Regions from separate parts of the Homo sapiens genome. Here all the other regions are linked to region 1. The links are contacts of gene promoters, found by promoter capture Hi-C in blood cells and fetal thymus (Javierre and others, 2016). All regions are on one chromosome and are shown on one strand. The core of a region is centred on a gene start or on the middle of the fragment in contact, and the rest is flanking DNA. Distances in the headings are between cores, read along the strand shown. Region 1 overlaps LOC105374986 (a long non-coding RNA gene). Region 2 holds the start of BTN2A1 (butyrophilin subfamily 2 member A1). Region 3 holds the start of H1-6 (H1.6 linker histone, cluster member).

Evidence for each region. Contacts are between HindIII fragments. The CHiCAGO score rates a contact against its expected background, and 5 or more counts as called.
Region 2: the fragment with the promoter of BTN2A1 here is called in contact with a fragment that was not itself captured in region 1 in 3 of 17 cell types (total B cells, naive B cells and total CD8 T cells); the score reaches 5.3 in total B cells.
Region 3: the fragment with the promoter of H1-6 here is called in contact with a fragment that was not itself captured in region 1 in 1 of 17 cell types (monocytes); the score reaches 5.3 in monocytes.

What each region holds. Positions count from the first base shown.
Region 1 is chr6:26,261,720-26,264,369 of GRCh38, forward strand. LOC105374986 (a long non-coding RNA gene) reads left to right here. Exons shown (of 3, transcript XR_926613.3): 3 at 1-209. Among named protein-coding and RNA genes, the nearest start is that of H3C8, 8.4 kb to the right of the region's middle. The HindIII fragment of the contact is 3,420 bases long and covers 1-2,650 here.
Region 2 is chr6:26,456,653-26,459,302 of GRCh38, forward strand. BTN2A1 (butyrophilin subfamily 2 member A1) reads left to right here and starts at 1,303. Exons shown (of 8, transcript NM_007049.5): 1 at 1,303-1,490; 2 at 1,955-2,066. The coding sequence starts at 1,985. RefSeq lists enhancers at 914-1,173, 1,334-1,493. The HindIII fragment of the contact is 11,033 bases long and covers 1-2,650 here.
Region 3 is chr6:26,106,796-26,109,445 of GRCh38, forward strand. It overlaps H1-6 (H1.6 linker histone, cluster member), which reads right to left and starts at 1,340. Exons shown (of 1, transcript NM_005323.4): 1 at 617-1,340. The coding sequence starts at 1,298. The coding sequence ends at 675. The HindIII fragment of the contact is 5,524 bases long and covers 967-2,650 here.

The DNA of each region.
Region 1 (2,650 bases), core at 50-2,549:
CAGGGAGAAACACAAGCCTGTCAACAAACCTAGATAGATTTTGTCACAAACCACTGTCTACTCTGCAGCCCTAACAGACATTGTCCCAGGCCCTTGCATGTTCTTCAAGCCCATTGAATTCCCCTACAAATCATTTATTATATCCCTAAAAACACTTCTCAAGCTCCCATTTCCCTAGGAAGTAGAATAAACATCTATGTCCAATTGCAGTATTGGGTGATCACTCTATCCACCCCCCTCTGCAGTGTACACGTTAATAATTTCATATGCCTTTTATTAATTCTGGTCATTAATTTAACCTTTTTCTTCTTTGGGGCCCACGTTGAAACCTCTATTTTCAACTTCTCTTCCAGTTAGGTGTGGCCTTTTAGCTAAGTTCCTGCCAATGGAACATAAACACAAGTAAAGATTGACATTTCCAGGCCTGGGACATAATAACTTTCCACGAAGGATTTTTCCATGTTCTTTCCCCTTGCAGGGCAAATGTAGAAGCCACATTTAGGATGGCTAAGCCACAAAGACAGAGGGCATCTAGGTTCCAGAACCACTGCTAGAAGAAAGAGGGACCTGCTGATCTAGAATACCCTTTTTGAACCTCATATCCGCAGAAAATAAACTTGTATTTATCTTAACTAGTATGCTCTGCACCAAAGAAGGGTCTAGATTCTTAATTTCTAAAAGGAAATGCATTCACTTGTTGCTGGATGAATCTTCAGGTCAAAACACTTCATCTGTAAAAGAAACATAAGATTTCATGGAGAGAAACAAAGCAAAATGTGGACTTCTTAAGAGTTAACCAGAGGAGAGGAAGCTATATTCACATCTATCAGCAGTAGAACTTCTGTCCACAGCCTAGTGATCTTTCAAATGTGGATGTGACCATAAGGATGAGGTAGTTTCATTGGATATGTTGCCTCTTGGGTCCTCCATTAGAAAAGCATAAGGAGGGTTGGATGCGGTGACTCACATCTATAATTGCAGCACTTTGGGATGCTGAGGCAGGAGGATCACTTGAGCCCAGGAGTTCAAGACCAGCCTGGGTAATATAACGAGACCTCATCTCTATATTTAAAGAAAAAAAAATTAAATAAAATCAGTAAGGCGGCCGGGGGTGATGGCTCATGCCTGTAATCCAACACTTTGGGAGAGAGAGGTGGGAAGATTGCTTGAGGCAAGGAGTTTGAGACTTCAGTGAGCTAGGATCATGCCACTGCAGTCCAGCCTGGATAACAGAGCAAGACTGTCTCAAAGAAAAAAAAAAGAAAAAGAAAAGGAAAAGAAAAGAGAAAAGAAAAATAAGAAAAGAAAAGCTCAAGGAGAAAACAGAGACTCTATAATATTGACATTGCTCCCCAAAAGTCTCGTAGAATAATCTGGGTAAATTTTGTAAGACACCAGATATGTCTTTTTTCCTCTAACTGCACTTAACCAAAAAAGTGAAAGTAATTGATAGTCCATTTTTGACAGTTATAATCATAAATAAAATCCCTGGATCTCATATCGGACAATAGTCTCACTCAATATGAAGGATTAAGAAGAAATGTGATCTCTCAATTTTTTGTCAAGGTTTATCTAGGGCTCAAAATCAGTAGCTGGGAACATGTATCATCTTCATCATAATTTAATTTTGTTTTATTATGGATTCGGCCATCACATTATAACCATTATAGAAATTTTAATGTGGAGTTCTGTTGCTAGTAGGAGCAGTTTTCTTTGTACTTTGGAGCTCATCCGTAGATATCTAGTATAATGAAATCTCAGAAAATGTTACAGCATATAAAGCCTTGTAAAGATTACATTGGTTTCTTTCATGTGAAAAGTAAAATGATAGCAATTTTGCAGATCTCTTATTTTTTATTTTAAATAAATTATCATATAATAATACTCTTTCCTTAACTACTGGTATCCTTGAATAAGGCGAGCAGTCTTCCATGGGGTTAGCACTCATTGCTTATCTTTTCCTGCCCCTGCCTCTTGATTCACTGTCTTAACTGAATGTCCTTGGGTATCTGGAGCAACACGTTTGAAAAATTAAAATGTATGAATCAGGCCGGGTTCAGTGGCTCATGCCTGTAATCCCAGCACGTTGGGAGGCCAAGGTGGGGAGATCACCTGAGGTCAGGAGTTCAAGACCAACCTGGCCAACATGGCGAAACCACATCTCTACTAAAAAAAAAAATACAAAACTTAGCCAGGCGTGCAGGCACCTGTATTCCCAGCTACTTGGGAGGCTGAGGCAGGGAGAAGTGCTTGAACCTGGGAGGCGGAGGTTACAGTGAGCCGAGATCCTGCCACTGCACTCCAGCCTGGGCAACAGAGTGAGACTCTGTCTCAAAAAAAAAAAAAAAAAAAAAAGAAGGCAGGGCGCGGTGGCTCACTCCTGTAATCCCAGCACTTTGGGAGGCCAAGGTGGGTGGATCACCTGAGGTCAGGAGTTGGAAACAAGCCTGACTAACATGGCAAAACCCCATCTCTACTAAAGATACAAAAATTAGCTGGACATTGTGGCACATGCCTGTAATCCCAGCTACTCAGGAGGCTGAGGCAGGAGAATCACTTGAACCCGGGAGGCGGAGGTTGCAGAGAGCCGAGATCGTGCCATTGCACTCCAGCCTGGGCAACAAGAACGAAACTCCGTCTCAAAAAAAAA
Region 2 (2,650 bases), core at 53-2,552, 190 kb after region 1:
TTGAACAACAGCTAAGAGCAGAGCTTAGAGCTTAGAGCTGGGCCCTGTAAGGTGAGAGGAATCACATCCTGCAGAAGTCTGTCCTGAGAAGCAGGTACTCCTGTCACAGCAGAGACACAGTGGATACCTGAGTAACAATAATACAAGACAGGACGTGGGAACAGCAAAAGATTTGGGTGTCAGAAGAGGCCGAGAACACTTCAGGCAGGAACATTCAGAGTTGTTCTTGGAGGAAGTAGGCACGAAGGCTGGGCAGGATTTCACGGGGCAGAGATGGAGCAAGCAATTGAAATGAAAGCCATGGCATGGGAAAAGGAGCACTGGCCACAGGGAGTGCAACGTTGTGATGCAAGGCCACTGTGGAGCCATTGCTAGCGTATTAACTGCAAAGTTTTGAATTGAATCAGAAGGGAATTGGAGGCCTCCAGACTAAGCATTTAGACACTTGAGGGGAATATTGACAACTGGGCCTCGGGAAGATTATTCTGGAAGATATCTTTACAATTACAAGATTGGAGCCTTTGGGAGAGGGATGATGTTTACGGGAGGATGGTATGTGTGCTAGTGTGTGTGTCTGTGTGTGGCTCTTGGACCCAACCTGACCACCTACTATCTAGAAGGTGAAGGACAACTAGAAAGTTTTGCTCAATTCCATCTTCTGCCACCACCAGAATGCCACCTCCCTGAGGGAAAAGGTTTTTGATCCTCAGTCAGGATTCTCAGCACCTCTTATCCGATAGCTTTGGAATGAATGGCAAGGCCTTCATAACAGCCACTGCAACTGCTGTCTCCTTTCCTTTGCTACCCCTCCCGCTCCAGCCATGCCAGCTTCCCCCAAGCCCTCCTGCGCTCCAGGCCCAACCTCCAAAGCCAGCAACTTGAACAGGAGTCCTCTGGCTTTGGAAAGGGGGCGGCTTACGTTTTCCTGCTCATGTTTCCTCCCCAGCAAAATTGCCCTCTACATAGAGAGGCCTCTCCTTGTGGACACCAGCAAAGCCACCGACCTCAGTGACAAACCCCAGGGAATCTCCCCAAGGAATCTCAAAGCGAGAGAGAGAGAGAGAGTCTTGAGAGAGAAAGAGAGAGAGAGAGAGTCTTGCTTTCGAACAAAGAAAAAGGAAATAAAAAGACCCGATAATCTCAAAAGGTTATTTGCTGCTTGAAATTTGTGATTCGGTGTATTCTACCCAGCAACTGCTGAGAAATAAGGTTCGACACCATTGGCTGGTTCACTCACACCCGGCCAATCCTGGGCTCTAAAATACTTAGGGAACTCTTGGGACTGTGGAAGCCCAGGAGACCAGATTTCGTTTCCTGCATCTCCAAACATGGCGACCTAGGAGAAGGGGAAGAACAATTTTTTCTCCTCTTTTGGGAAGGTTTGTGTCTAGTAGTGCCTGTGCCCCTGGGCAGATTGGAGAGAAGAGGGACGACTGGAGAATCGTCGAGAACCAGCGGAGAAAAGAAAAAGCAACGTTTAATTCTAGAAGGTAGGAAACGGAGGGGAGGCGCTACAGCTCCGGGGTGGGCACAGTAGGTGGGGGAAGCGGGGTCTGCTGTGGACACGAGACGGGGTCCTGGGACAGGGAAAGCCCACCGGTGGGGAGGCGCGGCCTCGCCTGTCTTTGCCTCAGGCTGCCCGGCCTGGGTCGCGGGGAGGAGGAAGTGAAGGGAGGAGGGTGTGGTAGAATCCAGCGACAACTGAAGAAACTGCATTCTGGCCAGAGAAGTGAGCCGAGGAGGGCGGAAAAAGGCCCCCTTGATCTTGGCATTGATGGCTTACTTCATGGAATGTTTAAGGAATCCCTCTCTCGGGACATACCTGAGCCTTCGGATGCAGGGGACTCCCTGAAGTTGGGGCACTGATGAGACCTACTTGAGTGACGGGAGAGGTTGGGCCCGACCAGCACTGAGGTGCCAAGACTCCTAGGCTGATTCTCCTCTGTAACCCTAGGCCTCCTGTCCCTGCCTGCTCTGGGTGCTCATGGAATCAGCTGCTGCCCTGCACTTCTCCCGGCCAGCCTCCCTCCTCCTCCTCCTCCTCAGCCTGTGTGCACTGGTCTCAGGTAGGGATGTGTGCCACTTGCTGCTGTCACCTATCAGAAAGGAACATCAACCCTGTAGTCTGCAAAGGGAAAGAAAGAAGGACTGTGGAGTTGTTGACTTACCCTTTCATTCTGAACATGTTCATTGAATTTATACCAGCACTGTCCAAAAGGAATACAGTGAGGCACAAAGGCCGAGTGCATGTACAATTGCAAATTTTCAAAAAAAATTAAATTTTACTTTTTATTTTAAAAAGTAAAAAGAAACATGAAATAAATTTGTATACTATATTTTGTTTCGCCCCAAATAATCAAATACGAATATTTAAATACTTAGTTAATATACCATATTACCAATGAGATAGTCAACATTTTGAAATTTTAAATCTTCATAATCCTGTGTGTATTTTACACTTACAGCTCATTTCAGTTGGAACTAGCTAGTGGATATGTGTCCTATTGCACGGCTCAAGTTTACAGTACACTCAGGCACAGCACTAGATTGGGAAATCGAGGAAAATCCCCTCAAGGGCACAGGGTGGACAGAGGGTGCTCAGGGCAGGTTCCTCAGGGTTTCCTTCATGAAGCAGAAGCACACTTTATAG
Region 3 (2,650 bases), core at 90-2,589, 150 kb before region 1:
GAGTGAGGTAGCACCATCATAGCTCACTGTATCCTTAAACGCCTGGGTGCAGGGACTAAGGGAGCGTGCCAACCATGCTTGACTAATTTACTTTTTTGTAAAACCAGTAGTCTCCAACCTTTTTGACACAAGAGACCGTTTTGTGTAAGACAATTATACCACGGACCAGGGGGTGCAGGGGCTGGGAGCAATGATTTCCGGACTAAAACTGCTCCAACCTCAGATCATCAGGCATTAGATTGTCACAAGGAGCCTGAAACCTAGATCCCTTGCATGTGCCATTCACAATACAGTTTGAGCTTATGAGAATCTATCTAATGCTGCAGCTAACCTGACAGGCGGTGGAGCTCAGTTGGTTAATGTTCGCTCACCCCTCAGCTGTGCGGCTCAATTCATAACGTGCCATGGACAGGGACCGGTTACCGGTCGGTGGCCGGGGAAATGAGGACCCCTGGTATAGATGGTAGTCTGGCTATGTTGCCCAGGATGGTCTTGAAGCCTGGCCTGAATTAATTCTCCAATCTCAAGCCTTTTCAACTCAGCTGCATCACAACTTAAACCTATAGATAACTGTCACAGAAACTTGTTTCCAGTGTTACGCCATCTTAAAATAATGTGGGTGGCTCTTAAAAGAGCCTTTGGGTTCTTTCCAAATTGGCCTCCCGGAAAGCTCTTTACTTCTTAGATGTGGCCTTTCTAACATTAACTTCATGATGTTGGGTCAATTTTGACTTCGAAGCCCTTGCCTTCACTGGGCTCTTCTGCTGTTGCTTACCCTTGGCTCCTTTAGCCTTTCTCCCGCTCCTAACAGTTTTAGGAGTTGTCGCTCTCGGCTTCTTGGCTCTCTTATTGGTTTTAGCAGTCTTTGGTGACTTGGAGTCCCTGGATAAAACCAGCTTCTTGGTCTTGGCAGAAACTGACTTTTTAGCCTTGCTTCTGGTAGATTTAGGAATCACCTTCTTACTAAGCTTAAAGGAACCGGAAGCACCAGTACCCCTGGTTTGCACCAGGATTCCCTTGTTCACTAAGCTCTTGAGGGACAGTTTGATGCGGCTGTTATTCTTCTCTACGTCGTAGCCAGCAGCGGCCAATGCCTTCTTGAGCGCAACCAAAGACATACCTACTCGTTCCTGTGACACTGAAAGGGCCTCGGTGATCAACTTGGACACAGAGAGGTTCGGCACTTTGCGACTTGCACTTATCAAGCCAGCCGGCTTCCTCCCTCGCTTCTTGGTTGGAAGTTTCTCCATAGCGGCTACACCAGCACTGGCAGAAGCTGCAGGCACGGTTTCAGACATAACAACAGAGAAACGCAAGATGTAATAACCAGCGAAAAGCATGAAACACCCGGGCGGCCTCGGGGCCTTATATAGGGTAGGGCGCGCTGTGATTGGTGCATCACCTAGGCACCGCCCCCGCCCCTTGGAGGAGGAGTATTTGTGTTTGTTTTACCCGGAAAAGTTGAGTATAACAAAACCCCTCTTTACAGAATCTCCCAGGGTCTAGTGCTGAATAATCTGCGGAAATTCATATTTGACATGACTTTTCTCTTTTTAATGAAAAATGACCCTGGATGCCAAAACTATTCGAGAAAGCCCTCGATTTTCAATCAAATTCACGGAGAGGAACAAAACTTCCCCTTTTCCTTGTAAATTAATAAGTAATCTTTGGCAGAAGACTTATTTCATCTCTTCAGAGTGGTCTTCCAAATGGATAGCTTCAAATCGGTAGAGGAAAGAAATTATTCACGCCATGATTTTTATTTAAAATTATTTATATATGTGAGGGAAGTAACACAGATCTCTTAGCTGTCTAATTGCGGAGTCAGAAGATGCTTATAGAATTGTCAAAAGACTGCAGAGGATGTCTTTATTTAGGCATGTGCAATCTAATAAATCATAATCCACAGGAACATGGGTTGTCTGTAATTAAAGGTGCTCCCAAGTCCCTGTAGCTTTATAGAGGACTCTCAAGGATGGGGTAATATCAAGATCTCACACATTATGTAAGATTGGCCATAATCAGGCCACTCTCATGACCGGTGTCCTCAACTGAGTTTTGCTTCTGGTTTCATTAATTGAAGTCCCCTCTATCCCCCTGCCCACCCCTACATCCCCAGATAAACAGACACAGTCCCTCCCCTAAATTAACTATAAAACATGAGGTAGGAACCCTAGACTCAAGAACCTACTAGAAACTACAGACCCCATGTCTAACAAGACTGGGCGGGTTGGCTGGGCGCAGTGATTCATGCCTGTAATTACAGCACTTCGGAAGGCTGGAGGCCAGGAGTTCAAGACTAGGTTGGCCTGGTCCCTACTGAAAAAAAAAAAAATTAGCTGGGTGTGGTGGCACATGCCTGCAGTCCCAGCTTCTGGGTAGACTGAAGAGGATCACTTAGAGCCCAGGAGCTTGAGGTCGCAGCTACTGCACTCCAGCCTGGGCAGACCCTCATCTCTGAATTGCTTAATTAATTAACTGAGCTGGCAGATTTGGCTGCATAGCTGTGGGGAAAGGGTTGTTGGAATAATGTCCAGTGTGCTCCCCTGAGCTTCTACTGGAACAGGTCTTTGTGAGAGGCCTGGAGATAAGAGCTTGCTCACAAAGGCTGAGGCCTTTCTGGGATGCTGAATGAGTTTAGTGTGGCCAG